5 separate regions of the Homo sapiens genome follow, and all the other regions are linked to region 3. The links are contacts of gene promoters, found by promoter capture Hi-C in blood cells and fetal thymus (Javierre and others, 2016). All regions are on one chromosome and are shown on one strand. The core of a region is centred on a gene start or on the middle of the fragment in contact, and the rest is flanking DNA. Distances in the headings are between cores, read along the strand shown. Region 1 overlaps SFPQ (splicing factor proline and glutamine rich). Region 2 overlaps ZMYM4 (zinc finger MYM-type containing 4). Region 3 holds the start of SMIM12 (small integral membrane protein 12). Region 4 overlaps ZMYM4 (zinc finger MYM-type containing 4). Region 5 has its middle 4.7 kb from the start of ZMYM4.

Region 1 (4,566 bases), core at 1,400-3,899, 330 kb after region 3:
GCTTTTATACACTAGTGTTTACTTTCAGCATTATCCTGTTTCCTATGCAGAAAGTGCTCAGATTGTTCCAACAATAGGTCTCCTTTTGTACACAGGCACAATACTAAACTTCAGCATGTTAATAAAGGTTTGACTTAGAATTTTTCTTTTGCCAATTAGCACCAAGAAAAGAGGTGAAAAGGAGGAAGACACATTCCATAGTAAGAATTCTACAATGTACAGATTTGAATGGAACGTAACTCAGAACAAAGCCAAACCATTCAATTACTTTACCTACTGTTAGGAAGCTGTTCCTCTAACATATTTACACTGGGAAATCAGGCTCCCATTATACTAACAGGCAACAATAAACAATCTACTTTAATAGTCAAAGTCTCTTGTTCTAATGGAAGGGGGTTCAATGAAGTTGACAATTAACTGACAACACCATGGAAACATTCCAAGCCTTTATGGTGGGAGGAAGGGATATTTGTACTGTGTAGCATGAGCAACTTTCTCCAGATTTAGTGCTACATGAAAACGAAACTATGTGAAAACAAGTTAAATTTACAATAAGAATGATTATCTGCAACCCTATTTGTTAACAATCACCACTAGCTCTTAGAAGAGAACCAATAGATTTTTATAGTCCTATAGATTTTGCCCAACAGAAGTAGCACAAGGAGATGTAAAAGTTACAGAGTACAAATGTATATATAACTAAACCTACTTCAGTACTAAACCTTTTTTTTTTTTTGAGACAGAGTCTCGCTCTGTTGTCCAGGCTGGAGTGCAGTGGCAGTCTCAGCTCACTGCAACCTCCATCTCCAGGTTCAAGCAATTCTCCTGGCTCAGCCTCCCGAGTAGCTGGGATTACAGGCGCCTGCCACCACGCCCAGCTAATTTTTTGTATTTTTAGTAGAGACGGGGTTTCACCATGTTGGCCAGGCTGGTCTTGAACTCCTGATCTCATGATTTGCCCACCTCAGCCTCCCAAAGTGCTGGGATTACAGGCGTGAGCCACCGCGCCCGGCCCAGTTACTAAACCTTCTTACTTTCAAGTTTTGTTTTTTAGACTACACCCCATCTTTATAAATCACTTGAATACATGAAAAGACTTCATGTTTAACATCTTTAATTCAAATGTAAAAGTTCAATACAAGCCATTTATAGGGCTTGAGATTTGTTGGTCTTTTAAAAACAAGAAATGGGGAAATGCAACAAAATGACCTTTCCACTTTTCAAAAGCTTTCAAGTAAAGGATAGATCATAGGGCCATAAAAGATCCATTTAATCAAACCCACTTTCACCCCCTACCAATTGTCTTACACCCATTCCACAATCTTAATACATATTCCTGAAGATTTACAGTTCAGCTTTGCTTACATAACCATTTAAAAAATACTTAGCACCAGCGTGCTTCCTATATGCCAAACAAATCATCAAACTACTTCAATATGCATTTCTTCTTTTTAAAACAAAGGGGGCAATTATTTGTAGAAAGCAATACTTAGCCTCCAGATGCATTTCCCAGAAATGGCATATGCCATTCAAAGGCCTAGACACTCTCATGCTTTCAATGTGGAATACGTAGCCTAATATGCATAGAAGCATGAATGGCAAAGTTGAAGATCAATATTATAACTATTTTTCTATTTATTTGAAGCACAGTAAAAAAAAAAAAATTGGTACACTTTGGAAATTCAGTGGCACAAGGTACACTGCCATAAACTTGAGGGACATTATACAGTAAAAAAGAAAAAATAAAGAAATAAAAAGGAAAAAAAAATTCTCCTGTTCCAAACACTGCATTACATAATTTTACCTGCCCAAACAGACCATTTACAAATATTAGGTCAATAAACTGCTAACATCCATAAAAAGATAGCTTTCTTACTAAAATGCAAGAATTTAAAAGATTGGTATCTAAACAAAAAAACAAAACAAACTGGAATGAAAGCCTAAATATCACATCTAAAATCGGGGTTTTTTGTTTGGGCCTTCGTACTCTTCTCTCCCTCTACCATATCCTGCTGGAGTTCCAGGCCCCATTCCTCTAGGACCCTGTCCACCCACAGGCCCCGCACCTCCCTGCCCAAAGCGCTCAGTACGCTATTGGAACAGTAATTAACAGTTCATTATAAGTAGTTGATGTCCATGTGTGTTAAGTAAATATTTTAGAAGGTTCCGTAGTCAACGTTCGTCGATACAATCACCAATGAGTCGATCCACAGGTACCGGGAACATAGAAAGGAAAAAAGGGTAATTTGAAAATTAGTTTACGGTAATACATGCCTTGTGGTATGTTCCCACTTGAGCCATTCTCATACACCTGTTTCAAAGAACAGATCTTCCCTGTAGTGCTAAAAAATTTAAGAATTAGTGCAGATGTGAAAATCCATTCCAAAATGAGTTCTAAGAAATTTCACATCAGATTAACCCACTGAAAAACTTGCAAACTCTCACTTTCAACGTCTGAACGGAAATTTAATTTCCAAGTAAGCCTAACAAGCCCAACCAGAGATTCAATTCACTCAATGAAGTGACAAAGACCTACTCACCAGTTAGTGGCATGTGCTGCTTAAGAAACCTTGTGCTTTTCAAGATCTTAAGACACATCTGCTAAGTTGCAGAAATCTTAAAAGGTTGAAAGTTTTAATAAAATGCTACCAGACTACAAAAAGAAAAAGCATAAGACTATAGATTTAGTCACTTAACCGGCACAGTAACTTGATCAAAAAAACTTATGTTGCCAAATTCTCACAGGCACACTACCTTCCGAGCCATCACTATATAACCAGAGACAATTACGTTCTCAGTACTATTCTATATTGTTGCAAACTAAATGAACAAACCCCACCCACCTTCATCAGTCCATCTTTTCCCTTAGGTCTTTGAAAAGTGCAGACACTTTGCTGTAATTCCATGTTTTAGACACTTCCCGAACAGTGAAACACGAAGCTAAAGTAACTGCAATAAAGCAGTGAGTGACTTCACTATTCCCATCTAGTTTTAGGTAATTCTGGAGATAGAAGTTTTCAATAGAAACATATGTGCCTAAATAGCAGACCCCTCAGGTATGCAAACACAGCAGCCTACACTTTTTCTCATTCCATTTATAATAGACCAGTTACTAAGAGTATTACTCCAAATAAAAAACTAAAAGGGCATCAGGGTTTAACTGTTCCTATACACAATTTCAACATTCTTTTAAACAAAATACTATTGAGCTACTCAACATGACTAAACTTTTATCCTTTGTTTTTCAAAATCTTATAAATTACAGGGTTTTTGGCTCATTGTTCTGTGTTCTACCTCTAAGAACTTAAAAAAAAGAAAAAGTTGGGGCTTTCATAATTATGTTAATTACACCAGCTGAGAACCCAGGAGCTATCAGCTACCTGTTATCTAGAATATAAACCTTTAATTGTGAGAACATAAGGTCAAATTAGATTTTACACATTACCTAACAATCTGTCTTTAGGAAGAATATAAACCAAAATGTTACCCACATACTCTGAAAAATCTAAAGAAAGCCCATAGTATTACATTTTACCCAACCAGCCATTTATAATTCTAACTTTAATTCCCAAAAAGTCTTAGGTAGATTATAAACAGGTGAGGCCTTATACAAAATCCTTATGTTTCTATTTATAAAATGAATCTTATGAGCTACTCACTGCAGCTCCCCTCCTTTGCCAAAAGCCTGTAGTGAACTCATCACATTCAACTCAGCTATAAAAATGCACTCTCTAAACCCACCAAAATTCAGTCCTAACGATTTGTAAAGCCCTAATGCAGCCACTCATACCAGTTCAACTGATTGTTCTAAGCATCTGACAGGCTATATTCACAGCTGAAACATGATAGCATCAAGAAGGTTCAGATCAAATGCACACCATTAGTATGCTTAAAAATTGTTGATTTTTGCTACTCTGTAGCAAAATGGAGATGTCAGTTGATTTTAGAAGGTATACCTACAGACAGGCCCAACAGGTGGGAAACGACGAGTCAAAACACTCAATTCCCTTTTCATAGGATAGAAGCCACACCAAATATAGGTCAAAGTCCTACACATCACTAAAACGTGCCTAAAGCTTCAAACTACAAGTCTGATTCCTACTTATGGCAAATACCAGCTTAAAGAATGAGTTTGCCATTTGATTATTCTCACTTGGATGTAGAATAATCAGATACATTATCTAGCATCTAGAATTTGGATTTGCCATGCACTAGAGTTCAAAAGCACCTAAATCTACTTATTGCCAAAGGTAATTCCACATAATACTAACAGCATTGACTCCTTGTTGGCAACCGTTATCTGTTTAGGTTACCACACACCGAGTTCTTCTATGTTGCCAAAGTATTCCTCAATATTACATATTTATGTATGAAATTGGTAGGGGAAACTAAAAGAGGTCCAGTCACCTACTTAAAAAAACAAAACAAAACAAAACAAACACACCTAAGTTGTGAAAATGAGAATTTCCTTGGTACTACGTCCCACAGGATACATTACCATGTCACTTCCCATCATGGAACCACTCATGGTTGCTGGTGGAACGCCAGGATTAGCTTCATAACCTA
Region 2 (4,628 bases), core at 1,926-4,425, 440 kb after region 3:
AAATTCCCTTAACTATTCTCAAGCTTTGTTCTGGGATACAGTAAAGTTACTAGAAACAGATATTTTTGGTACCCTGTATCCCTGCCTTAAAAAATAATAAGATAAACAAGTCTTTTTGAGGCTTACTTTTAATCTTTGTTACGTGGTGGCACCAGAATAGCTTCTTGGCAAAAGCTAATTTTATCCTACTGCTGACTTTTTACTATACTATTGAATATTTGATGCCCCATGTGATACCCCATGTGTTAGAAGGTCTTTTCCTTCTGGGCTGAGTGTGGTGGCTTACACCTGTAATCCCAGCACTTTGGGAGGCCAAGGCGGGCGGATCACTTAAGGTCAGGAGTTCAAGACCAGCCTGGCCAACATGGTGAAACCTCGTCTCTACTAAAAGTACAAAATTAGTCTGGCATGGTGGCAGGTGCCTGTAGTCCCAGCTAGTCAGGAGACTGAGACAGGAGGATCGCTTGAACCTAGGAGGTGGAGGCTGCAGTGAGCCAAGGTCATGCCACTGTACTCCAGCCTGGGTGACAGAGTGAGAGGGTGTCTCAAAAAAAAAAAAAAAAAGTCTTGTCTTTTCCTTCTGGTTGATGGAACATGAACTATTTCAGGCCCTGTATAAACTCTAGGAATTGTTCTGCCCGCTTTTTTCTGGTGACTGTTTCACTGGCCTCCATGGTTTCTTCTCTTACTTGTGCAGCTTGATACTTAGCTGAAGACTAGAGGAGAGTACTCTGCAGATCTCTGAACTTCTCAGTGTATCTCTCTCCTTTTTAGTATTCTGGCCTCTTTGATGTCTGCTAACTCTGAACCCTGTTTCCTCAACTTCGGGAGATTGCCAGGCTCCATTTAGGTTCACTCTGTATGCTATGTGGCCTGGAAACTCTCAGATGGTAAGCTGGGGCAATGATAGGACTCACCTCGTTTGTTTCTCTTCTCTCAGAGCTTACTGTTCTATTCTGCCTGTTCTCCAATGCCTGAAAAATTTACTTCATAATTTTGTCTGACCTTTTAGTTGTTTAAGGCAGGAAGGTAAATCCACTCTCTGTTACTTCATAATAGCCGAAAAGTTGAAATCCTGTTCCATTCATTTTTGTTGTCTGAGCGCAGTCTCTAGAACAAGGGTCAACAAGCTGTAGCTCACAGGCCAAATTCTAGTCGGTAGCCTATTTTTGTATTATCCACAAGCTAAAAACGGCTCTTGCTTTTTTTTTTTTTTTTTTTTTTTTTGTGACAGGGCCTTGCTATGTTACTCAGGCTGGGGTGCAGTGGCACCATCACAGCTCACTGCTGCCTTGACCCCTGGGCTCAATAGATCCTCCTGCCTCAGCCTCTGGAGAAGCTGGGACTACAGGCCTGTGCCAGCGGACTGGCTAATTTGACTTTTTTTTTTTTTTTTTTTTTTTTTGAGATGGAGTCTTGCTCTGTTGTGCAGGCTGGAGTGCAGTGGTGCGATCTCAGCTCACTGCAAGCTCCGCCTCCCGGTTTCATGCCATTCTCCTGCCTCAGCCTCCCGAGTAGCTGGAACTATGGGTGCCTGCCACAATGCCCCACTAATTTTTTGTATTTTTAGTAGAGACAGGGTTTCACCATGTTAGCCAGGATGGTCTCGATCTCCTGACCTCATGATCCGCCCTCCTCGGCCTTCCAAAATGCTGGGATTACAGGTGTGAGCCACAGCGCCCAGCCTAATTTGACTATTTTTTTGTAGAGATGGGATCTTACTATGTTGCTAAGTTGGTCTCAAACTTCTGGGCTTATGTGATCCTCCAGCCTTGACCTCCTAAAGTGCTGGGATTACAGGTGTGAGCTACTGCACCCAGTCTGGCTTTTGCATTTTAAAGAGCTGTTTTTAAAAAGAGAGCCTGATGTGGTGGCTCATGCCTGCAATCTCAGCTACTCTGGAGGCTGGAGGTGGGAGGATTGCTTGAGGCCAGGAGTTTGAGACCAGCCTGAGCAATACAGGGAAACACTGTCTCCAAAAAAAAAAAAAAATTATCCAGGGCATAGTGACCACGCCTATATTCCTAGCTCCACCAGAGGTTGAGGTGGGAGGATCACTTGAGTCTAGGAGTTCGAGTCCAACCTGGGAAACCTGGCAAAAAAAAAAAAACAAAAAAACCTTGTCTTTGCAAAAAATCCAGAAATTAGTTAGGTGTGGTGATTGCCTGTAGTGCCAGCTACTCTGGAGGCTGAGGTGGGAGGATCAGTTGAACTTGGGAGGTCGAGGCTGCAATGAGCTGTCATGGTACCACTGCACTCCAGCCTGGTGACAGAGGGATACCTTGTCTCAAAAAAAAAAAAAAAAGAAAAGAAAAAAAATTGCTTATAGTATTTCTTTATATTCCTTGTAATGTCTGTAGATTTGTAGTGGTGATCTCTCTTTCATTCCTGATATTGGCAATTTGTGTTTTTTGTTTGTTTGTTTGTTTGTTTTTGAGACGGAGTCACCCAGGCTGGAGTACAGTGGCACAATATCGGCTCACTGCAACCTCCGCCGTCTGGGTTCAAGCGATTCTCCTGCCTCACCCTCCCAAGTGGCTGCGACTATAGGCACGCACCATCACACCGATCTAATGTTTGGATTTTTAGTAGAGACAGGGCTTTGCCATGTTGGCCAGGCTGGTCTCAAACTCCTGACCTCAAGTGATACATGCATGAGCCACAGCGCCCAGCCTATATTGATCTTTTGATAGAACTCATTTTTGGTTTCACTGATTTTTATGCTGTTCTTTATTTTCTATTTAATTTATTTTTGCTTTTATCATTATTTGATTGATGTTTGCTTTTATCTTTATTATTTCCTTCTTTCCACTTATTTTGGGTTTACTTTGCTTTCTTTTCCTAGCTTCTTGATTTGGCATCCTTCTTTAAGTTATATCAATAACTTATGGTTTAAAGCTATAGACATTTCTAAGCCCTGCTTTAAGTGCATCCCCAAACTCTTAGTAAGTTGTGTTTATATATCATTCAGTTCAAAATATTTACTGAGTTTTCTCTGATTTATTTTTCTACTTACATTACCATACAGTTTCTTTTTTTTTTTTGAAACGGAGTTTCGCGCTGTCGCCTGGGCTGGAGTGCAATGCCATGATCTTGGCTCACTGCAACCTCCGCCTCCCACATTCATGCGATTCTCCTGCCTCAGCTTCCTGAGTAGCTGGGATTACCGGTGCATACCAGCACACTCGGCTAATTTTTTGTATTTTTAGTAGAGATGGGGTTTCACTATGTTGGCCAGGCTGGTCTCGAACTCCTGACCTAGTGATCTGCCCGCCTTGGTCTCCCAAAGTGCTGGGAGTACAGGCGTGAGCCACCGCGCCCGGCCATACAGTTTCTTTAGAAGTATGCTTAATTTCTAATTTTTGATATTGTAATTATCTTGTTTTATAGTGATTTCAAATTTAATACCACTGAGGTCAGAGAATGTATTTTCTATTATTTCAGTTATTTGATTTTTTTTTCTTTTTTTTTTTCTTTGAGACGGGATCTGGCTCTGTCATCCAGGCTGGGGTGCAATGGCTCGATCTTAGCTTACTGCAACCTCTGCCTCCTGGGCTCAAATCATCCTCCCACCTCAGCCTCTTAAGAGTACCTGTGACTATAGCGTGTGCCACAATGCCTGGCTAATTTTTTTTTTGTATTTTTTTTTTTTTAGATATGGGGTTTCACCATGTTTCCCAGGCTGGTCTCCAGCTTCTGGCCTCAAGCAATCTTCCCACCTTGGCCTTCCAAAGTGATAGGATTACACGTGTGAGCCACCACTCCCAGCCTCAATTATTTGATTTCTATCGATGCTCTTTTTTTATGGTCCAGCATATAGTGTATCTTGGTGCCTCCACAAGTAAACTTTATTTTTTATTATTTTTTAGACAGAGTCTTGCTCTGTCCCCAGGCTGGAGTGCTGTGGCGCAATCTCAGCTCACTGCAACTTCTGACTGCCTGGTTCAAGCGATTCTCCTGCCTCAGCCTCCTAAGTAGGTGGTATTACAGGCATGCGCTACTACGACCAGCTAATTTTTGTATTTTTAGTAGAGATGGGGTTTCACCATGTTGGCCAGGATGGTGTTGATTTCCTGACCTCGTGATCCATCCGCCTTGGCCTCCCAAAGTGCTGGGATTACAGGCGTGAGCGACTGCGCCCAGCCCACAAGTAAACTTTAAAAAGTGCATACCAAGTTATTAGGTGTAGTGTTTCTATAAATACCACTTGGGTCAAGTTGGTTGGTAGGGCTGTAAAAATCTTCTGTGTCTTACTTGTTTTTTTGTCTTGTTCTAACTGACAGAACTATAAATCTGCAGCCACAGTTGGAGATTTTACTTATCTCTTTAGTTCTGTTTTTTGCTTCATGTATTTTGAAGTTGTATTGTTAGTTGCTTCACATATAGAGTTATGTCTTGTTGATGATCATATTTAGTGACTCTATTCTTTTTTCTTTCTGTTTTTTTTAAGATTTTTTTTCTCAGGTGATCTCTCAGCCTCCCAAAGTGTTGGGATTACAGACTTGGGCCACCATGCTTGGCTGAGTGACTCTATTCTTGTCATGTTTTCTCTTCTTTTTTTTTAGAGACAGTGTCTTGCTCATCACCCAGGCTGGAGTGCAGTGGCGTAATCATAACTTACTGCCGCC
Region 3 (4,294 bases), core at 237-2,736:
GCCACAAAGGCTCACAGACATTATGTTAACTTATCCAAGATCACTAGAAGTGATAGAGCCACTGATTTTGAACCCAGGCCTCTCCAATTTCAAAGCCTACACTCTTTCTAGTGGGAAGAACACACTGCAGAGGTATACGGTTTCTGTCCAAACCCTGGACTTAGGGAGAGCTTCCTACAGTTTTTTCCCATCAGCCTGGCATTTCATTACCTAGAAGAGCTTTCCTTTTCCCAAACTCTGAGATTGTACTCAGGGATTTATGAAATTCAGAGACATAGTAATAGTTAAAAGAGGCACCTCTGAAGAATCCCAAACCTAATACTTCTCCATTTTACTTCCACCTTTAAAGCAAGTCCTCTGTATAAGTAAATGCTTCCCTAAATAGCAACTGTCCGTTCAGATTTCCAAACCTGTCTTAAAACATATCGCGCATGAGTTCACAACTATCTCTCACATGCAGCATAAAGTCTCTCGCTACCGTCCTGCTCACATTCTAATCATTCCCAAATAAGTCAATTCATTCCTTTATTCGACACTTATAACCACTTACTCTGTGTCAGGCACGATGCTGGCTTACCCTGTCTGCGTTTCTCAAGACACTTTAAGCTCCAAAAGGCTAAGAACCGTGTCTGTCTGGCCCAATTATGCCCTATCCATCCAGGCACCTCTCCTACCCTGCCTGGCAGAGTGCCCAAAAAAGGTCTGCTGAACGAATGAATGACAGCCCAAACTCCCTAGTGTAAAATCACAACATCCTCCACCCACTCTCCCCCAAAAGGTGGCAGGAGCATAACAGATGCCTTTGCTGATTACAAAAACCTAAAGACTCCATCATAGTCGTCCCCAGGCAGGGTATCACAATGAAAGAGGCAAAAGTGTCTGAAAAACACTGTGACGCATATTTCCAGCCCGGCATGGAGGACGTCTGCCAAAAGCATCCGGTAAAGGTCAACTGGGCTGCTGGGAAACCTGCCCCAGTGCGAGGGCCCGGAGGCCCAACGAGGCCAGAAGCCGTAGTCCCAAATTCAAGAACTACTAACAAGGACACAGGAGGCCTGAGAAGGCGGAAGAATTAGCCCTGACAGTCACTAGAGCGCAGTCCAGGAATGGGAGCGCAAGTAAGGCGAAGGTCCATCCAAATGGCTACCCTTCTCCCTTCTGTGAGTCTCCCGGTCCCCTGTCCCTAGCCCACCTCATTCATGGCCTCATCAACGTCCGTCCTCATTGAGGTGCCGAGAAGCCCTGTCTGCGGAGGGCTACCTGGGCTCCCAGACTTGGCACCAGAACACCCGCCAGAGAGGGGAGCTGGCAGATCTGGCCGGGACCGGGGTGGACCCTAGCGATCACTCCTCCCGTAACTCAGAGGTTACTGGCCTGGGCTGACCCGACCTGCTCGCCGGGACCGCGCGCTCACCTGCGGCCCAGCCCACACTCCCCAGTGCGGCCCCCGCTCTCCGCCCGCTCGCCGGGAGCACGGAAGTCGCCGCACCCAGCGGCCCGCGGGACCTTGCCCTGTGACCCTGCCCACTGGCCGCCGGCTCTCTCGGAGCGCAGGGATTGGCTGAACTTCAGCCAAAGGACGGAAGGAAGCTAGGCGTCCGCAACTGGGCCCCACTGCGCTGAAATGGACGTCGCGCCCTCTGTTGGCCGGGAGGTTTCTCAGTGATGTCGCCACGTGTTTTCTGCGTGGAAAAAGTGAAAGATCATCCAGTCATTTTTTTCAACTGATGTTTATTAGGCGTCTTCTAAGACCTAGGTCTGGGCACGCAAAAACAAAAGACATGATCCCTGACCTCAAGAAGCTCTTCTTAGAAGAGTATATTTTAGTGCTTTAAGACCTCTTGGGATCCGGGCTAGCTTTCTAGTGACCTTGGGAACATTATTAACCTGTCTGAGCCTCCCTTCCCCTTCTGTGTAGAGGTAATAACACCCATTTCGCAAGGATGGTGTGAGGGTTGGAAGAGATAATATTTGTAAAGTACTGTGGCAGGCACACAGCCAGCAGGGAAATAAATGTGGCTATTGTTAGTGTAAAAATAATTCAAATATAGTAAAACCTAAGTCTTACATGACCTCTTGGGTACAAGTATTCACTTCCTCCTCTGTGTCCCCACTGTACCCTATACAGACATCAATTTTATCATATACAGAAAAGTCCCAAAGCTCAAGCTTGTTAATGCTCCCACAAGGCCCTTCCCACCCTCATCCCACTAATCTCAGCCTGCATATTTATTTTGCTCGCACATACTAAACCCGGCAGACCACACTGTTTCACACCTCAGTGCCTTATTGATGCTTTTTCATCTACCTTCCCACCTTTTTTGTTGTTGTTGTTCAATTTCACTCTTGTTGCCTGGGCTGGAGTGCAATGGCGTGATCTCGGCTCACCGCAACCTCCGCCTCCCAGGTTCAAGTGATTCCCCTGCCTCAGCCTCCTGAGTAGCTGGGATCACAGGCATGCACCACCACGCCCGGCTAATTTTGTATTTTTAATAGAGAAGGGGTTTCTCCATGTTGGGGAAGCTGGTCTCGAACTCCCGACCTCAGGTGATCTGCCCGCATCGGCCTCCCAAAGTGCTGGGATTACAGGCGTGAGCCACTGCGCCTGGCCGCTTTTTTTTTTTTTTTTAACAGGACTCTCGCTCTGTTGCCCAGGCTAGAGTGCAGTGGCACAATCATAGCTCACTGCAGCCTCAACCTCCTGGGCTCAAGTGATCCTCCCACTTCAGCCTTCCGAGTAGCTGGGACCACAGATGCACACCACCAGGCCTGGCTAATTTTTGTACTTTTTGTAGAGACTGGGTTTCACCATGTTGCTAGGGCTGGTCTCGAACTCCTGAGCTCAAGCAATCCGCCCGCCTCAGCCTCCCAAAGTGCTGGGATTACAGGCATGAGCCACCGTGCCTGGCCATGTAGTGCCCTTCCCACCTTTCTTTACTATGCCAGATTGTGCTCTGGCACAATTTTCAAGCTTAAGGGTCACCTCCAGAGGAAGCCTCATACATAGACTGCTTATCACATTAGACACCCTTCCTCTATTATCTCAAACAGCTCAAAGCTAAGCTCTGGCAGTGAAGATGGAGAAAAGGGAACAGTATTGTAGGGGCCAAGGTTCACTGAAAATCAACTGACAAAAGGCAGATTAATAGGAGAAAAGACATACAAAATTTTATTTTAACGTGCATAGCACGGGGCGGGGAGGCGAGGGGGTGGGAAGGGAAGGGTCACAGGAGAATGATTACCCAATAACCCAATGGGGTACAGAAGCGTATACACTCTTTTTCATAGGGGAAGGGGAGAGATGGAGAATATAGACAATTCTTCTGAGGGCAGCAAGTGATTCTTAGGGCGAAAAAATGGACAGAAATTAACTTGTAAATGATTCTCTTTAGAATTTGAATGAGCCCGAGAAACAGGCATCATCTTGTGAAAAATCCATCCAGGCGTAGTTGCCTTCCTCAGTCTTCTTTTCTGAGCTAGATGAGATTTCGGAGAGGGGAGGAAGGCAATTTTGTTTCTTTTGGAAAGACGTTTTCTCGATCAGATTAGGAAATTCTAGAGAGAGTGCCTCCCTATACTTGGGAGAGAAGGTTAGAGGGACCTTGATTCTGAGGCAGCTTCGAAGGCCTCTCAGCATGTCAAAGCGCCAGTCTTTGGGGTATCGCTTTCTGAGCCCCAACAGTACAAATAAATATTTAGGAGACCGTTGTTAGCAGAACCTGCTCACTAACTGAATATGTGGAGAGGAGAAGGGAACAGAACTGTCCAGAGTAACTGGCATTTGGTCAGCCAATCATGTGCTAGGCAATGGGGATGCAAAAATGACTGGGACCAACCTGCCTCCAGAGTTCTCTGACTAAAGAAACAGATGGGTCTACAAAATGTCAATAGAATGTAAGAAATGTGATGACAGAAGTATACACACGCAGCACAGAGGAGGATCTTCAGCCCAGCCAGGAAGATTCAGGGAAGGCTCCCTAGAGGAACCAAGCCTTGAGCTGAGTCTTGAGTCATGGCTAGCAGTTCCCTCAAGCAGAATTGCTGAGGGGCTCAGGAGCATAGACTGAGAAATCAGATAGCCATGGGTTCAAATCCTGACTCTTGTCTGCTTATCTCAGAAAAGCTATTTACACTCTTTGTTTTTAAAAAAAGACAATAATAGTACCCACTCCTAGGGTTGCTATGAGTATTAAATCACCTAAATGTGTATAAAGTGCTTGGCATAGTAGTTTGCACCTTCTCAGTGCTCAGTAAATGGTTATTGACATGTTAAGTATTTCCCAACTGTATTGCT
Region 4 (4,735 bases), core at 883-3,382, 430 kb after region 3:
ACAGGTTTCACCATGTTAGCCAGGATAGTCTTGATCTCCTGACCTCGTGAGCCACCCGCCTCGGCCTCCCAAAGTGCTGGGATTACAGGTGTGAGGCACTGCACCCGGCCTTGAAGTGGTATCTTACTGTGGCTTGGATTTGAATTTTTCCAGTGACTAATGATGCTGAACATTTTTTCATGTGTTTATTGGCCTTTTGTATATGTTCTCTGGAGAAATGTTATTTAAGTCCTTTGTGCATGTTTTTTAATTGCACAAATTTAAGTCCTTTGTGCATGTTTTTTAATTGCTTGTCTTTTTTGTTGTTGAGTTTTAGGAATTGTTTTTATATTCTAAATATTAAACTCTTATCACAAAAATAATTTACAAATATTTTTTTCCCATTCTGTAGATTGTCTTTTCACCCTCACGATAGTGGCCTTGATGCACAAAAGTTTTTTTGTTTTTTTGTTTTTTTTTTTGAGACGGAGTCTCGCTCTGTCGCCCAGGCTGGACTGCGGACTGCAGTGGCGCAATCTCGGCTCACTGCAAGCTCCGCTTCCCGGGTTCACGCCATTCTCCTGCCTCAGCCTCCCGAGTAGCTGGGACTACAGGTGCCCGCCACCGCGCCCTGCTAATTTTTTGTATTTTTAGTAGAGACGGGGTTTCACCTTGTTAGCCAGGATGGTCTCGATCTCCTGACCTCATGATCCACCTGCCTCGGCCTCCCAAAGTGCTGGGATTACAGGCGTGAGCCACCGCGCCCGGCCAAAAGTTTTAAATTTTAATGAAATCCAATTTGTGTTTTTCTTTTGTAGCTTATGCTTTTGGTATCATATTTAAGATGCTATTGCTAGATCTAAGTTCATGTAGATTTTTCCCTATGTTTTCTTCTAAGAGTTTTAGTGTTTAGGTCTTTAATTTAGGTCTTTAATCCATCTTGAGTTAATTTTTGTTTATGGTACAAAGTAAGTGTCCAGTTTCAATCTTTTGTGTATGAATATCCAGGTTTCATAGCACCTTTTGTTGAAGAGCCTGTTCTTTCCCCATTGAGTGGTCCTGGAAACCTTGTTGAAAGTCAGTTGACCATCGTATCAGTTTGGGCTGTCGTAACACAGTATCATAGTCTGGGTGGCTTAAACAACAAATTTATTTCTTACATTTCAGGAGGCTGGGAAGTCCAAGATCAAAGTGCCCACAGGTAGGTTTTATTTTCAGGCCTTTTCTCTTGGCTTGTAGGTAGCCACTACCTTGCTCTGTGCTCATGTGATTTCTTAGTGTTTGTGAGGTGAGAGAGAGTGTAAGCTTTCTGGTGTTTCTTCTTAGAAGGGCATTAATCACATCATGAGAGCTCCACTCTCACTACCTCATCTAGCTGATTACCTTTTAAAGTCCCCCTCTCCAAGTATTATTACATGGGGGGTTAAGGCTTCAACATATGAATCTGGGGAGGAGGGATACAAACATTCAGACCATAACAACGACAAATGCGAGAGTTTATTTCTAGACTTTCAGTTCTGTTCTATTTGTCTATATGCCTGTTCTTGTGTCAGTACTACACTGTTTTGATTACTGTAGCTTTGTAGTAGGTTTGAAATTAGGAAGTAGGAGTCCTCAAGTTTTTTTTTTCAAGATTGTTTTGGCTATTTGGGGTGTGTTGAAATTTCACGTGAAATTTAGGATGGTTTTTTCCTATTTCTGAAAAAAGAGTTATTAGGATTTTGACAGGGATCAAAATTGAATTTGTAAATCAAGGGTAGTTACTGTCATCTTAACAATGTTAAGTCTTCCAGTCTGTGAACATGGAATGTCTTTCCATTTATTTTGGTCTTCTTTTATTTCTTTCAGCAATGTTTTGTACAGGTCTTTTAGTGTACAAGTCTTGTGCTTCCTTGGTTAAATTTTTCTCAAGTATCAATCAGTATAATCTACCACATTAGTAGAATGAAGAAAAAAAAGAACTCACTACAGTCTGTCCTTTGTATCTATGAGTTCCACATCTGCAGATCAAAAATATTTGGAAAAAAAAATAAAAGGTAATACAAATTTATTCCTTAATCAAGGACCAGAGGAAAAAAAATACAACATTTAAAAATAGAGTATAACAACTGTTTGCATAGTATTTGCATTGTATTAGGTGTTATAAGTAATCTAGAGATGATTTAAATTGTATAGGAGGATGTGTGTAGGTTATATGCAAATACTATATATAAGGGACTTGAGCATTCAAGGATTTTGGTATCTTTGGGGGGTCCAGGGTCCAGTCCCCCACAGATACTGAGGAATGACTAAATCATCTCAGTTGATGCAGAGAAAGTATTAAAGAAAAGCTAACATCCTTTCCTTTGTAAAAGCACTTTAATAAACTAGGAAAAGAGGGGAATTTCCTCAACATGATAAAGGCTACCCATGAAAAATCATTGCTTACATCATATTCAGTGGTGAAAGACTGAGAGATTTTATCCTCAGATGAGGAACAAGATGAGGATGCCTTCTTTCACCATGTCTATTCAGTGTAGTATTAGAAGTTCTAGCCAGAAGTTAAGCAAGAAAAAGGAAATAAAAAGCATTCAAATTGGACAGGAAGAAGTAAAACTATCTCTATTTAAAGGTGACATGATCTTATACGTAGAATACCCTTAAAGTTATGCCAAAAACAAAACTGTGCAAGTTAGTAAGAAATTCAGCAAAGTTGCAGGATATGGCATCAACACACAAAAATCAGTTGTATTTATGTACACTAGAACAATCCCAAAAGGAAATTTTAAGAAAACAATTTCATTTACATTAGAGTCAAGAAGAAAAAAAAAATACTGAAACACCTGTATCCCTTTGACTTAACTCCAATAGTCCTTGAAAGATTCCTCCCCGTCCGCCAAAAAAATAGAACCAGGCTCATCTATACATACGCTACTTCAGACCTGGAATTAACTTGTTTTGCAAGACGCCTCAGTACCTTTCAGTGGAAGATGTTATCTGGAGACCACAGCCTGAACTCAGACAAGCTTTTTGAAGTTAGAATCTTTATGAGATGGTGTAAGTTGCTTATTTCCCATTCACTCCTGAGCCTGCCTGCCTCTGTCTGCCTATTTTTTTTTTTTTTTTTTTTAAGAGACAGGATCGTACTCTGTTGCCCAGGTTGGAATGCAGTGGCATGATCACGGCTCACTGAAGGCTTGACCTCCTGGGCTCAAGCAATCCTCCCACCTCACCCACCTGAGCAGCTAGGACCACAGACAATACCCTTGTGCCTGGCTATTTAAATAATTTTTTTTTTTTTTTTTTTTTTTTTTTTTTTTTTTTTTGTAGAGACAGGGTCTCCATATGTTGTCCAGGCTGGTCTTGAACTCCTGGGCTCAAGCAGTCCTCCACCTCTGCCTCCCAAAGATTATAGGTGTGAACCACCCTGCCTGGCCCTAGCTTATCTTTCTGTTTTGGCACTGAAATTCTTCTCTTTAGGAACACTGAAATGATCTAATAATCACCAAATCTAATGGATGCTTTTCAGAGATTATTTTATTTGACTTTTCTTAGATCTTTATTTGACCTTTCTTATTTCTGTTGCCCTTCCTTCCTCGACTTTTTCCTTGTTTTATGAGATGGCATTCTCATGGTTCTCCTCTTGAATTGCTCTTTTTGCGTGCTCAATAAGTGTTATTCCCTCAGCTTGTATTTTCTTGAGCAATCTCTTCTACAATAGTGGTTTTACTTAATTTTTTTTTTTTTTTTACTTAGTATTTTTTAAGAGATGGGGTCTTGCTATATTACCCAGGCTGGCCTTGAACTCCTGGCCTCAAGTGATCCTCCTTCCTTGGCCTCCCAAAGTGCTGGGATTACAGGCATCAGCCACTGGCTTATAGTAGTAGTTTTAGGATCTACCCATTAAGTACATTATGTGATTTCCATTTTACTTCTTCGCTTCTGTTTTTGTCTTTAAAACTAAAAATCTTGTGTTTTTGCTGTCATACAAATACTGCAAATTCACTATGTCTACAACTGAACTCCTACTTCCTTCTTCCCTGCCAATTACTTGCTCACACACCTAGTGCCCTCCCCTTCTCAACTTGTTATTTTTCCTATTTATTTTATTTTTATTTTTATTTTATTTTATTTTTTGGGGGACGGAGTCTTGCTCTGTCACCCAGGCTGGAATGCAGTGACGCAATCTCGGCTCACTGCAACCTCCATCTCCCGGGTTCAAGCGATTCTCCTGCCTTAGCCTCCCATGTAGCTGGGATTACAGGCATGCGCCACCATGCCTGGCTAATTTTTGTATTTTTAGTAGAGATGGGGTTTCACCATGTTGGTCAGGCTGGTCTCGAACTCCTGACCTCGCGGTCTACCAGCCTTGGCCTCCCAAAATGCTAGGATTACAGACGTGAGCCCCCACTCCCGGCCTATTTTTATTTTTATTTTAGAGACAGTCTTGCTATGTTGCCCTGGATGGAATGCAGTGGCAAGATCATAGCCCTCTGCAGCCCCAGTCTGTTATTCTTCACATATTATCTCTATTAGTTACTGGCTTCTAGTCACCCAAGTTAGAAATCTGTGAGTCATCTTTTGTTTCTTCCCTTTCCCTTACTGTTTAGTTTTAATTGCTAAGTCTTGTTAATACTACATCAGGTATGATTTTAAAAACATTTTTGATGTTCTACTGCCACCACCTTAGTTCTGGTACTCATTTTGCATGTTTTGTCTTTTGACTTTCCTTGCTTTTACAACTCTTCTTTTCGCACTCCCTTCTTTACTGTTTCCT
Region 5 (4,203 bases), core at 1,243-3,742, 400 kb after region 3:
TTAATATATCCTGGTTAGTACTGAATTGTATCTCATCCAGTAGAACTTGAAGAACAAGGTTTATAGAAGAAGTACACTGAATTTACTGGCTGGGCGCAGTGGCTCATGCCCAGCACTTTGGGAGGTAAAGGTGGGAGGACTGCTTGAGGCCAGGAGTTCAAGACCAGCTTGGACAACATAGAGAGACCCCATCTCTAAAAAATATTTTAAAAATTAGCCTGGAGTGGTGGTACAGGCCTGTAGCCCTAGCTACTTAGGATGCTGAGGTGGGAGGATCCCTTTAGCCCAAGAGTTTCAGGTTATAGTGAGCCATGATCACACCACCATACTCCAGTCTGGGCAACAGAACAAGACCCTGTCTCTAATATAAATAAATAAATAATCAATCAATGAACTGATATTTAGCTTCCTTTGCAGAAAAAAACAATAATTATGATAATTCTAAAGAATGCATGTCCGAGGGACTAAATACCAGATGGAGAACTGACTTCTAGAGTTGGATTTACCCCAGGATGCGTGATTTCTTTTTGACCTGCCTGGTTATCTACTTCCTGGCTCTTCTCTACTGTCTCAGCCTCATCTCCATGGTTTGTCTCAGCTTGGAGGGAGAGGTTTTGGAAGCCATGTCCTTTATTTTATTTTATTTATTTATTTATTTATTTATTTATTTATTTTTGAGATGGAGTTTTGCTCTTGTCGCCCAGGCTGGGGTGCAATGGTGCAATCTCAGTTCACTGCAACCTCTGTCTCCCAGGTTCAACCGATTCTCCTGCCTCAGCCTCCCGGGTTCAAGTAGCTGGGATTACAGATGCCTGCCACCATGCCCAGCTAATTTTTGTATTTTTAGTAGAGACAGGGTTTCACCATGTTGGCCAGGCTGGTCTCAAACTCCTGACCTCAGGTGATCCACCTGCCTCAGCCTCCCAAAGTGCTGGGATTACAGGCATGAGCCACCGCGCCTGGCCCATGTCATTTATTTGACCTTTCCAATGTATTTGGTCATGGTTTACTATTTTTAATGTGCATTAGTGATTCCCATCTTTTAAAAAAAGATTTCTTGGGCCACATTCCTCTCCAATAGCACTCTATCTCTCTAATCTTTTTCAAAGTGAAACTTCTTGAAAGAATTGTTCACATTCACTGTTTCTATGTCTTCATCTCTTATTCTCTCTTCCAGCCACTCCAATCATGCTTATGTTTAAACAAATCCACTGAAATAATTCTAGTCCAGATCACTAAAGATCTTTCAATCGTATCATCAATTCTTGGGCCTCATCTTACTTGTCCTCTCAGTGACATCTGAAAAATTAGTAATTGAGCCTCTCCCAAAACAGTCTTTATTTGGTTACTGAGACCACAAATTCTCCTGACTTTCCTGCTACTTGGCTGATTCTCTTTCTCTTCCTGAGCTGTAAATGTCGGGGTGCCTCCGGATTCATTTCAATATACGTGCTCTTGGTAACTCTATCAAGTCTATGGCTTATATCAATGACTCTCATATTTCTATCTCTAGCCCTGTTATCTCTCCTAAGCTTCAGATTTGAATATCTAACTGCTATTCGACATTTCCACTTGGATGTCTAGAGGCATCTCAAATTTATCATGTCCAAGACATCTTCCTTCTTTCTCTGCCCACTTTCTCACATCTGCTCTCTTTTTTTGCATTTCAAATAATGGGCAACAGCATTAACCTATCTATTCAGGCTAAAAAGCTAAGAATCATCCCTAAATCACTTTTTCTTTCACTCCCAGCACCCAATTCATTAGCAGCAATTCCATGGGCTACGCCTTCAAAATACATATATTCTGAATCTAATTTTTACTATCTCCAACGCCAATGCCCTAGGCTAAGTCATTGTTATCTCTTACCTGGACTGCCACAAAGCCTCGTAACTTACATCCACCCTTGCTCCTTTATGGCTTATTCTGCAATGCACATGGTATCCAGAGGGTTCACATCATTTTTTTTTTTTTCAAAGACTTCAATGGCTTTACATCATACACAGAAAATTACAAATCCTTACCATGGCATCCAAGGATCTTCATAATTTGTCTTTGTCTGCTTCTCTGACTTCATCTTCTGCCCCATCTCACTTGGTCCTAGTAACATCGGCACCTTGCTTTTCTTGAACACTTCAAGTTTGTTCCTGCCAAGGGGTTTTACACTTGCTGCTCCCTTTGACTGGAATGCTCTGACCCAGACATTTGCACAGATGGCTCTCAGTCATGAGGTCATGATTTAAGTTTCAGTTCAAATGTCACCTCCTAGCCAGGTGCGATGGCTCACAGCTGTAATCTCAGCACTTTGGGAGGCCGAGGTAGAAGAATCACTTGAGCCCAGGAGTTTGAGGCTCCAGTGAGCTATGAAGGTGACACTGCACTCCAGCCTGGATGACAGAGCAAGATCCTGCCTCTTTTTTTTTTTTTTTTTTTGATACAGCGTCTCACTTTGTCGCCCAGACTGGAGTGCAGTGGCACGATCTTGGCTCACTACAACCTCTGCCTCCTGGGTTCAAGCAATTCTCCTGCCTCAGCCTCCCGAGTAGCTGGGATTACAGGCATGTGCCACCATGCCCAGCTAATTTTTGTATTTTTAGTAGAGACAGGGTTTCACCATGTTGGCCAGGCTGGTCTGGAACTCCCGACTTCAAGTGATCCACCTGCCTCGGCTCCCAAAGTGCGGGGATTACAGGCATGACCCACCGTGCCCAGCCAAAACCCTGCCTCCAAAAGAAAAGAAAAAGAAAAACAAAGTCACCTCCTCGGAAAATATTCACTGACTAACATATCTAAAGTAGCCCCACTACAGTTATTTTTTATCCCACTTGTTTTACTTTCTTCCTAACATTTTCTGAATGGATCTACCTAAATGTCCAATGTAGTTTAAAACATATTTGAATCTAATGGTTAGAATTCTGTTAGTTAATAATTTCTTTTGGAAAGAAACACTGTATCTTTCCTGTGGCTGCCCTCTCCCTCTGAGTGAGTATCTAAAATAACGTCTGCATTTATGAGGCATTATGACTTTGGGGAAGCCTGAGACCTTGAATCTATTCGGAGTCCCTGACCTCTCAGGATGCTCTACAGCCTGTTGTTAAGAGAGTGGAATGTTTTGTAGCCTGGCCTCGCTAAGTTTGCTCAGAGCCTGAAGGCAAACCACACAGCTCTTCCTGAGGTCTGGCTGTTACTACTTTTTGTTCCTGGCCCAGTGTAATTTACAGAGCTACTTCCTCCTATACTTGCCAGCCAGCATTCTTGGCTACTTTCCGTATTCTTCTACAGGGTATGTGGGAACTTCTGGATATCTTCTCTCGCAGGAGCTAAGGACCACTCACTTGCAGAGCTCCGCCCAAAACCCTGTACCTAATTTTGTGTATGTAATTCTGTGTTCTTTTTCTTAAAAACAAAACAAAACAAACAAACAAAAAAACCCTCCCTCTCCCCCCATCATGTAAGCTTCAAGATCTGTAAAACCTGGATTCATCTCTGGCTGAGAGACACTCTGAGGAGCTAAATGCAGACCTGCTCTTTTTTCCCAACTACATCAGGGCATGACTTTTGCTCATATGTGGCTGTCTGCTTGTTGGTATGGGCATAGTCTGCAAGTCATCTCTACTTGGAATCTTAAACAGGAGCAGAGTAAGAATCCTCTCTGCCTTGAAGAGCTGGAATGGGAAGACAGGAGCACATGTCTCTCAATGATGCCTCTCTTACTTTTCTCTTTGTTCTTCTTCTCTCTACCCTTTTATTAAAAGAGTCAGACTTTTCTTTTATTTCCCTATATGCAGCCTCATGGCTTAGCTGTCCTGGATGGAAGGATATTTGGGTGGAAGGCATTTCCTGTGGAGTATGTAAAAACTCTATGAAATTATTATGTGCTGAGCTTCATAGATTAAATGGAACTAAGAAAATTTAGCAAATTCTTTTTCTCTCCATTCTGTTCTCTCCTGATTGGGAAAATAAGTCTCAAGGCTACATTTCAAGCAAGAGTCTATGACAGAAGATGACTTAAGAAAGTTAAAAGAAATCTGTTTGATATTTGCAAGATACTAGCCCCATTATAGTCTAGTTTTTTTTTTTTTTTTTTTTTGAAACAAGTCAGAGCACTGAACTTGTAGGTGAAATATCCCATTTAAAATGTTGATATATGATTTAACTTTTTTTTTTTAAAAAAAAGATAATGGCCGGGCGCGGTGGCTCACG

Evidence for each region. The method cuts DNA at HindIII sites, captures the fragments that hold promoters and counts their contacts. A CHiCAGO score of 5 or more calls a contact.
Region 1: a fragment that was not itself captured here is called in contact with the fragment with the promoter of SMIM12 in region 3 in 1 of 17 cell types (fetal thymus); the score reaches 6.5 in fetal thymus.
Region 2: a contact is called between a fragment that was not itself captured here and the fragment with the promoter of SMIM12 in region 3, in 3 of 17 cell types (fetal thymus, naive CD8 T cells and naive CD4 T cells). The highest score is 7.5, in fetal thymus.
Region 4: a fragment that was not itself captured here is called in contact with the fragment with the promoter of SMIM12 in region 3 in 2 of 17 cell types (fetal thymus and non-activated CD4 T cells); the score reaches 6.4 in fetal thymus.
Region 5: a fragment that was not itself captured here is called in contact with the fragment with the promoter of SMIM12 in region 3 in 4 of 17 cell types (total B cells, total CD8 T cells, erythroblasts and 1 more); the score reaches 7.4 in total B cells.

The regions. Positions count from the first base shown.
Region 1 is chr1:35,182,503-35,187,068 of GRCh38, forward strand. It overlaps SFPQ (splicing factor proline and glutamine rich), which reads right to left. Exons shown (of 10, transcript NM_005066.3): 9 at 4,499-4,566; 10 at 434-2,091. The coding sequence ends at 1,954. Among named protein-coding and RNA genes, the nearest start is that of SFPQ, 8.4 kb to the right of the region's middle. The HindIII fragment of the contact is 2,849 bases long and covers 1,226-4,074 here.
Region 2 is chr1:35,300,999-35,305,626 of GRCh38, forward strand. The region is part of intron 1 of ZMYM4 (zinc finger MYM-type containing 4); the gene reads left to right. Among named protein-coding and RNA genes, the nearest start is that of ZMYM4, 35 kb to the left of the region's middle. RefSeq lists a silencer at 305-503. The HindIII fragment of the contact is 6,308 bases long and covers 22-4,628 here.
Region 3 is chr1:34,858,263-34,862,556 of GRCh38, forward strand. SMIM12 (small integral membrane protein 12) reads right to left here and starts at 1,487. Exons shown (of 2, transcript NM_138428.6): 1 at 1,415-1,487. RefSeq lists a silencer at 1,309-1,438. The HindIII fragment of the contact is 6,874 bases long and covers 1-2,167 here.
Region 4 is chr1:35,283,527-35,288,261 of GRCh38, forward strand. The region is part of intron 1 of ZMYM4 (zinc finger MYM-type containing 4); the gene reads left to right. Among named protein-coding and RNA genes, the nearest start is that of ZMYM4, 17 kb to the left of the region's middle. The HindIII fragment of the contact is 1,700 bases long and covers 1,283-2,982 here.
Region 5 is chr1:35,261,904-35,266,106 of GRCh38, forward strand. No RefSeq gene overlaps it. Among named protein-coding and RNA genes, the nearest start is that of ZMYM4, 4.7 kb to the right of the region's middle. The HindIII fragment of the contact is 1,924 bases long and covers 1,531-3,454 here.